Regions from separate parts of the Homo sapiens genome. Here all the other regions are linked to region 2. The links are contacts of gene promoters, found by promoter capture Hi-C in blood cells and fetal thymus (Javierre and others, 2016). All regions are on one chromosome and are shown on one strand. The core of a region is centred on a gene start or on the middle of the fragment in contact, and the rest is flanking DNA. Distances in the headings are between cores, read along the strand shown.

Region 1 (2,894 bases), core at 15-2,514, 2.2 Mb after region 2:
GTGAGAGTGTCAAAAACAGCTTATTCAAATATGGTAGAATCTTCATTCTGTTAGTGTGATTGCCTCATTGAGGTCATTCTTGACTACCTTATTTTAAATCACTATATCCCATTCACAGTACTCCTTATCGCTGTTTCCTGTTTGTTTTTATCCAGAGTACTTATCATCTTCTGGTATTCCAAATATTTTGCTTATTTATTTCCTACCTCCCTTCTTTCTCCCTGAATTTAAGCCTCATGGTGGTAGAGAGATTTTTGTCTGTTTTGCTCACTACTGTATATATCTTTCCATACCTGCCATATGGTAGACTTTCAGTATTTGATAAAGATGAATGAATGGTGCTAGTTCAAGGCCAATTTTATAGACATAAAACCTTGCCTATGTTATTTTATTCCTTTTTATATTTATTCTGTTTCTGCTACTGAGACCTGGGCTCTTTAAGGTGGGGGTGATGGTGGTGGTTGTTTCTTTGCATTCTCTTCCAGCTTGAAATATATTGCTTAGTCTTCCTCTGTCTCTCTCTCTGAATGGTGTCCTTTAGAGTTGTTCAATAAGTAGCCCATGAAGCCATATGCAGTGGCCCTGCTTATCACCTTCATAAACTGCGGAGTTGTGAATACTGGTTTGATTTTCCTTATCTTTTTTATATTGATTACTTGGCAACTATTTTCTTCTTACTATTTTCTTAATATCTGACCTTCATTCTAAAACATTGCTCAATTGTATGTGTATTCGCAATATGTTATTTTAGGATTTTGTATGTATTCTATATATGTAGGCCTGACTTGAGTTTAATTAACTGTGGAATGGTATGGAATCTTCTACTGACGTTTAGTCAATGTAAATTTACTGACAAGATCACTGTAATTAAGGCTATGCAATTGTAAATCATCGTATGTCTCTGTTTTCGGGCCATGTTGTTATGGTTTCTTTCAGATGTTTGATCACTTAGCTGGAATTAGGGTGTGGGTAAAATTCTTGTTAAAGACGTGCCAAATGCAAGTTGGGAAATGCTGCAGTAGTCTAAGATTTACTGTCAGATTATTTCAGGGTTTTGACTTGCTTGCTTTTAAGATTTGTTTGAACATGTACAGTTTAATATTTTAAAAGTTCAGGAATGTGCTGTGGTTTAGTTCATCTATGATGTTTCTCCAGAATTACTCATAACATTATGTAAAGAAATTGTGCTATTTGGACAGAGGTTTTGAGAATAAGGGAGTGAACTGGATTTCATTTTGTAAAAGAATCTTCTAATGTGATGGTATTAACCCCTTTACTAATTTTGGGGGTCTTAGGACATATAGCCTTTTGGATATTGGACTGAGGAAATCCAGTAGTGACACCTTTTTTTTTTTTTTTTTCCTTTCTTTATAAGTGTTCAAAGTGACAGCTTTTGTAGAACATTTGTTCTCCTCACCTCGGGAGAGCTTTCATCTATATCAGATGACTTTTTGTGTGATTTCTGTCAAAAGGGAAGAGTCTTGAAATAACACTTGAGAGTTTTGTTTTTTTTGAGGCAGAGTCTCGCTGTGTCACCCAGGCTGGAGTGCAGTCTGGTGGATCACAGCACTGCAGCCCTAACCTTCTGAGTTCAAGCGGTCTTCCCCCTCAGCCTCCCAAGTAGTTGAGACTACAGGCATGCATCACCACGCTTGGCTGAATTTTTTCTTTTTTAGAGATAGAGTCTTACTATGTTGCCCAGTCTGTTCTCAAATCATTTTTCTGCCTTGGCTTCCCAAAGTGCTGGGATTACTGACATGAGCCACTGTTCCTGGCCACACTTAAGGCCCTTTTAAGTATTTGTTTTTAACCTTTAGAGAACAACAGGAGCACCTGCATACCTCATCCCTGCCTACGTTGTTACTGCATTGCATACTTTGGCCATGTTTTAAACTATAATGCTTTTGTTTCTCTATCACCACCCCAAATCATGCTATCTCTTGCTTTGTAGCTTTTAAATATATCTTTCCCATTTTTTCTTTTCTCCCTCCTTCTTCCAGGACTAATTTCAATTGTGTATTCAGATCTATATTTAGATGTTATTTTCTTCAAAAAACCTTTCCTTCCCTTTTACCTCCCCATCTCCATTTCCTGCTCTTTACTTTCAAGTTCTGCGTGTTCTTTTAACTGTGTGCACTTATCCTTGTTATAGCCCTTATTTCATGGTGTGTATTTCCCCACTAGATTGTAAACTCAGTGGGAAGCAGGGCTTAGATCTGTCTTGTTTATAATAGTTTATGTCATTGTTCTGGTCCTGTTATAGGTGCAAAATAAATACTTATTAAAGAAATAAATGAATGTCTTTTCTGAATGATTCCAAGTGTGTGCATGGCGATACTGGTATATTTTATTATGTTTATAAAGTGATATGTAGTTTTACAGAATTCTGTGCTATAAAAGTAATAATGTTTTGCACAGCCTATGCACTGTTGATATTCTTGATGTTCATAATTAGGGTATATCCTTTGCTTTTATAATAGTGCTGATGAATCAGTTTAGATGAGTTCTGGTATTTTTGAATAATTCCTCTTGTAACCAGTGGCTTGCATTTGCAAGATAGTAACCATGGTTAGGTTATTTGGTCTACCCATGGAAAAGAGAAAAGGAAATTGTTTCCAGATATTGTGGAAATAGGGGAGTCCTTAATGATCATTTTCTTCAATCTTCTCATTTTACAGAAGACTATCCGAGGGAGGTTCTGTTCAAGGTTATGCAGGAAAGCTTAGAGGACAGATTTTATTACCGTAAACGTAGCAACAGAGTTAAAATACATCAAGGATCCTGGGAAATAAAACCTTTATGATAGCTAAGTTTCTTTTATTTATGGCAATGCCAGACATAGAGAGCATGAATGGTATAGCTTAAAAAGTCTGGTATCATCTAGCTACAATGAA
Region 2 (2,845 bases), core at 195-2,694:
TTCTGCAGTTTTCCCCTTTTCCCTACAAAACCCTCTCTACTCTAAAGCCTGTAAGTAACAGAGGAAATCGAACAGAGGATGAAGAGAAATGGCCGATGGGACATCAGATCACAAGAGTAACTGCAACCTCATTTCTAGAAGACCAAAAGGCCCGGTTATCAAAGTACAGCTCTAAAAATCTCTATCAGACACCTTTCGCATCCACACAGATCTCCATCTGCGTCCCTTATTCATAAATCTTTTTAAAGCAAACCTCACGCCTATCCCTCGGGCCTGCTTATCCAAAACTCAACCAATCTATACCATGACTCCTCTTGGTGAAAGGCAGATTGAAGGGAGGTGGAAAGGGCTGGAAGGAATGTCATGGGAGAGGCGGCACGTGCAAATAACATTGCGGCAGAGACACTGAAAACGCCACTTCCCTTGCCACTGTTGCAATTCTCTTCGTGTATCATCCTCTTACCCTCTCTACCCATGCCACCTCCTACCTCAACGATACACACACGTGTCACAGCCGACCAGCACCATCGCCTTTTCCAGCATCACAGGTTCCCCTACCACCCCTCACTATCCCCCCACATAGGCAGGCAGACACACACACACACACACACACACACACACACACACACACACACGAGAAACTGCAGCCACCGCACCCTCCTATCTCGATAAGTGCTCCTGCCAACAGACATCCAGAGCGGACTGAAAGCTCAATAAATGCGCAGGTACACACACGCAAGCACACACACACGCGGGTGCACGCGCGGCATGGGGCGCAAGGAAGGGCGGCATGGGGCGCAAGGAAGGGCACCCTGGGGACGCACCTGGAGGCTGGGTGTCCAGCGCTGCCGCCCCCCTGGTCCCTGTCATTGAGCGCAGCGGTATAAATCCTCCGGTAGCGGTCGGCCAGGGCCCGGCCTGACAGCAGCAGCTGGTAGTGACCCCGGGAGTCCGCGGCGGGTAGCCCCAGCCCCAGCCCCGCAGCAGCCACGGAGCCGTCGGGAACCGGCATGAACAGCGCCCCCGGCGCCGGGGAGGAAGAGAAGGTGGCGGCTGGGTAGAATCCGTCCCCGCCGAGCCCCGAGGAGGCGGCGGCGGGGGAGGCAGTCGCTGCGCACATCATCATCCTCGCCGCCGCCGCCGCCGCCGCCGCCTCGTCCCCGCGGGCCGGGCGGGCAGACACGCGCGCGCACACACAGCCCTTTTCCAACGACGACGGCTCCGGCGGCGGCCTCTGGCTCCCGCAGCAGGGAGACTACAAAGACAGCGACCTCCTTCTCCTCCTCCTTCTTCTCCTCCTCCCCCCCGCGCCGCCCTCGCCGCTACTGGGGCCGCTCATCTAACCCCGCCACCCCGGGAATGTGAGGAGGAGGCGGTGCCGCCACTGCCGCCGCCACCACCGCTACCACCGCCACCACCGCCGGGGCTACCCGCAATGGGAAGCTGCCGGCCTCACAGAGCATGCGCCACTCCTCGCACATGCTCAGTAACTGCCGCCCCTTTTCCTCCCCACCCCCTCTCCGCCACCACTCCCTCCGCCTCGGGGCTTTGGGTTTGGGGCTGTTGGGTTGTGCGGAATCTGAAGTAGTCCACTTCTCCGGGTTTTACTGGCAGCTTGAAGAAGAGTAAGGAAAGTGCTGGGGAGGCTGTCAGCTACTGACGTTCGACTTCAGGTTCCCTCCAGGTGGAAGAACGAGGACCAGAAAGCAAGGGGGAACGTGCCCATCGCCAGAGGAGGAGTGGCACGCTCTTCTGCTACCTCTTCTCCAAGGCTCTGCTGCCAACAGGAAGATTTACTGTGAATTGTGCTGGTTAATTCAGAGTTTAAGGCAGAGAAAACCATCCCAATTAGAAGTGCCTTTAGCGATCTTATTTTATATGGTTTTTGTCATTAGGATTTACGCTTGTTTAACACAGCTTTTACTTACAAAGACAGGTAGTAATCTAGCACATTCTTTTTTGTGTGTGAAAGTATTTTGTGTGTGAAAGTATAACAGATAGGCTAGTATTCACAAGCCAGAGTCATTCCCAAATTCTTGTTCTCAACGGAGCAATAATATTTTTTAAATTACTCTTTTTTATTGACTCCTCACTCACCTAAGAGTGCACTTTTATCTCTTGGCAGTGGTCATTTAATGGTTTATTTTTTTCTGCCCAAACTTACATTTTTAAAGATAATTCTTGAATGCGATCTGAAACAATAATTGTGACGGAGACTGTATAGCGTCTGAAAATGTCAGATCCATCACATATCTTGTTGTTGTCTATAAAAAAGTAACATTTGCTCAGTCCTTTGTTCCAAGCTAACCTACGAACCCCATCTAAGTATATGCTCTAGAAATATACGTGCCAATGCACTTTGATTCCTACTACGTTTTATCCTTTGACTCTCAATTTGAAGAGTTTCCTAATTTACAGTCCTGACAAAATAATTTATAAGTTCTGTCATCCCAGTACTGTATCTTTCATCTATGTACTAGTTCTTATATCTGTGCCTCTTCTTCGGATGGCCTTCTCTTAAAAAAAAATAAAATAAATGTTAAAAAATCCTCCTTAGTGTTTGAGAAGTGCAAACAACAAGGAATAGGAAAGTAAATTAATTCTAGTTTTAGGGTGGAAGGTTGCTGAAAGCAATGCATTTTTTTCTGAAGCTTTAAATAATGGATGGATTTCATTTAGTTTTTTTAAAGATAATTAGCAGTGGGATAAACATAGGAACAAAGGACAAGACATGTGGAATCATAGTATTTTAGTACTGTAATTAGCCCTGTTAAGTTTTTGTATTTGTCTTGTTTCCTTACCTAAGTTCCTTCAGAGCTTGCTGCTTTTGTGTCTCCTTCAGCCA
Region 3 (3,156 bases), core at 486-2,985, 2.1 Mb after region 2:
TTACTCACATTCTGTCTAGTTAACAACAGATCTCAGGTAACCCATCCCTCTGGTTACTAAAATGAGAGAGCAGAGGCTAGTGAACATTTTCTTTTAAAACCAAAAAGGCAAAATTATCCAAAAGAAATAGCACTAAAACTAGAAATACAAAAAACCTAGTTCTATCATCCTGTTGGATAAATTTGGCTGAGTCGATTAAGCCTTTAACCTTTTTCTCATATTTCTTTAAAAGGTCTGGCTAATGCTGTGTGGTTATATATGTTAGAGATTCACTTCTAAGTCTTTCTCTAACATTGCTACCAAAATTTTCTGATACGGTTACCACAGTCATGCCAAAATTTATCTTTAAAAATGAGAAATTATTATGGACACTTTTCCGGTCATGAATCTTAAGACTAAGCAAACTAAGCTTCAGTTTTTTCATCTAACAGCTGACTTGCCAAACTAGAAATAATTACAAATAAATATAATTACAAATAAGACACACTTTATTAACCTGCCAAGCACCCTAACAATCGTTAAGGGATTACTAAATAATGAACTATGATAAAAAAAAATGCCTATAATCACCCCTAAAAATATACTTTAGTTAAATTCTGGTTGCTATATTTTAAGTCCTATATTACCTTTCAAACCTACTTTGTCCCAAGCCAAATTGTTAGCCTTTCCATGAAGCAGTCTGGTATTGAAGAAAAGCACTGAACTGTACTCCAAAAAACAATTTTCAGATTTCCAGTCTGGTGTTATTTCTGCTTTATTCACTAGTTATATAATCCTGCGTTAGCATTTTATTTCTCTAGGCTTTAGTTTACTCATTTAAAAAAAAAAAAAAGGCACTGAACCATACGATCTGAAAAAGTGGGTCATTTTTGTGAAAAAATATTTGGCTTTCACCACCTTGCGCTCTTTCTCCCTTCCCATTCCAGTAACTTTTAGTTAACTGAATTTCAAAATAATTTAGTACATAGCATTAGAATCTTCAAGAGAATTTTTTTTCTTTATGTCTTTCTAAAGAGTCACAGAATCCCATTTCCTCAGCACTCATGACCAAATTTTGAGCCCTTAGAAGGCATAAATAAATTCTACTTAATAGAAACATTTTGTGTATTTCTCCTAAATTGCCAGACCTATATAATTTCTGTACATTGTTTCTACCACTGTTACATAGCAACTACTGGTATGTTTGACTGTTTCTCCCATTGGTATTACAGATAACTATGCCTGCCTTTTCCCTAGAACAAATCACAATGTATTGAGAAGGAGCTTCTAATTACCAACATTATAGCAATCTAAATTCAGGCATTTCACAACTCACTCTTAAACTAGACTAAGAAATAGCTAACTAGTCTTCCTTTGTCTTCAAAACGTTTTATCTAATCAAACCTCTACATGCCATAAACTGGAATGCAGTGGCGATCTCAGCTGACTGCAACCTCCGCCTCCCGGGTTCAAGCAATTCTCCTGCCTCAGCCTCCCCAGTAGCTGGGATTACAGGCATGTACCACCACGTCTGGCTAATTTTTGTATTTTAAGTAGAGATGGGGTTTCACCATGGTGGCCAGGCTGGTCTCGAACTTCTGACCTCAGGTGATCCACCCACTTGGGCCTCCCAAAGTGCTGGGACTATAGGCGTGAGCCACCTCGCCCAGCAAGCAACATTCTTAAAAAGAGACTGGATCAAGTAACTCCTGTTTTAACCTTCCCCACATCTCATAATATAGCTCCAAAATTGTCCAATCACTTCAGTATAGCAATAAAACTTTCTCTACATCTGAAACCCACAGAGGCTAGGTGGATTCAAGAGCCTTTTCCTAATCACAATGTATACTCACGATTCCTCCAAACTTCATGTATTCTCACAGAACTTAACTGTTCCTCCAATTTGGCTGTTTAATGTCATCACAGGCATCCAAACTTAACATGATTCAATTTAGGTAAGTGCATTAACAACTTTAGAGACTGGTAACTGCAAGTTTATAAAGCAGTTTTCAAAAATAAGTTCTACCTATTTCAGTCTGCTTGCTACTATAAAAAATTAAACTTTTTAAAAAGGTAAGATAAGCACTTGAGATCATTAAAGAAAGTAATAGTAACAAATAAGAAACGTCACAATGACAATTTCTTACAAAATATGTCCAAAAAAGATCACAAGTTACAGGCCTCAAAGTACCTGTTATTGCATTTATAACTATTACAAGGAGCAACAAATAAACGACCGGCTGAAGTATATATTAATGCTATGTGGAATCTATAATCATTCAAACACTTTTCATTTATAAGTGACTTCATTTAAGATTTTATAAATTTTTTTATCAACTTTTAAATTGCCTGTAAAATGGAAAATAAATAATTGCAGAATGTATGGAGCAGAGATATACAGAACTCAAAAGTAGGCTAGAATTTACACTGACACACTATCTCCCGTAACTTCTTTTAAAATGGCTCTTTGAAACAAAAAACAAAATGAGGAACTACTTATAATGCAATACATAACATCATAAAACAAGTTCCTCTGAAGTACTAGATTTAAACCAAGAAAGTATACTTAATACTAAGAAAGCCTCCAACAGCAGCATTAGCTGACTTCTAGAAAATAACTTCTACTAATGAGAATAAAGCAAACATACACATAGAGGAAGATGTTCATTGCAGAGTTATTTAAAAAGTCAAAAACAGTGTACTAGTTGCGTTGTTAAAGAAAAAAAGAAACGGGAAAAAAAATAGTTATTTGGAAAGCCAAAGAAAAAAGCAAACAACCTAAATGACAAATAAGAACAGAATGGTTACATAAACTATAGTCTCTCATCCATGTACTAACCAAGCCTAATCCTGCTTGCCTTCCAAGTTAGATGAGATCAGGGGTGTTCAGAGTGGTATGGCCGTAGATGATTTGGTCATGCAAAAACACTGGATTTCAGCCATTGTAACGGCATAAAAACTACATATTAACAGTAAAAGTTCAAGGATGGGAAACGTAAAGAGGATTTTGCTTTTCAAGTCAAAGTCTTTTGGTAAGTTTTCCTTGACTACATACAGGAAGTACTTAAATAATTCAAGAAAATAAGCTTTTTTCCCCTAAAAAGTAATAATTACATCATAAATAAAGCACTATTTAAACAAAGTGCAATACACTCACATAATGGAATTCTATGGAAC

The links. The method cuts DNA at HindIII sites, captures the fragments that hold promoters and counts their contacts. A CHiCAGO score of 5 or more calls a contact.
Region 1: a fragment that was not itself captured here is called in contact with the fragment with the promoter of MYCBP2 in region 2 in 1 of 17 cell types (activated CD4 T cells); the score reaches 8.0 in activated CD4 T cells.
Region 3: a contact is called between a fragment that was not itself captured here and the fragment with the promoter of MYCBP2 in region 2, in 6 of 17 cell types (naive CD8 T cells, total B cells, total CD8 T cells and 3 more). The highest score is 8.5, in naive CD8 T cells.

Annotation. Positions count from the first base shown.
Region 1 is chr13:79,490,909-79,493,802 of GRCh38, forward strand. The region is part of intron 1 of NDFIP2 (Nedd4 family interacting protein 2); the gene reads left to right. Among named protein-coding and RNA genes, the nearest start is that of NDFIP2-AS1, 11 kb to the left of the region's middle. The HindIII fragment of the contact is 2,909 bases long and covers 1-2,719 here.
Region 2 is chr13:77,325,650-77,328,494 of GRCh38, forward strand. MYCBP2 (MYC binding protein 2) reads right to left here and starts at 1,445. Exons shown (of 83, transcript NM_015057.5): 1 at 825-1,445. The coding sequence starts at 1,126. LOC127898562 reads right to left here and starts at 1,339. Exons shown (of 1, transcript NM_001414702.1): 1 at 1,256-1,339. The coding sequence starts at 1,339. The coding sequence ends at 1,256. LOC107984564 (a long non-coding RNA gene) reads left to right here and starts at 1,396. Exons shown (of 2, transcript XR_001749930.2): 1 at 1,396-1,486; 2 at 1,615-2,549. RefSeq lists silencers at 865-984, 1,025-1,404 and an enhancer at 1,595-1,924. The HindIII fragment of the contact is 13,146 bases long and covers 1-2,649 here.
Region 3 is chr13:79,386,745-79,389,900 of GRCh38, forward strand. The region is part of intron 1 of RBM26 (RNA binding motif protein 26); the gene reads right to left. It also overlaps the pseudogene RNA5SP33. Among named protein-coding and RNA genes, the nearest start is that of RBM26, 18 kb to the right of the region's middle. The HindIII fragment of the contact is 2,656 bases long and covers 408-3,063 here.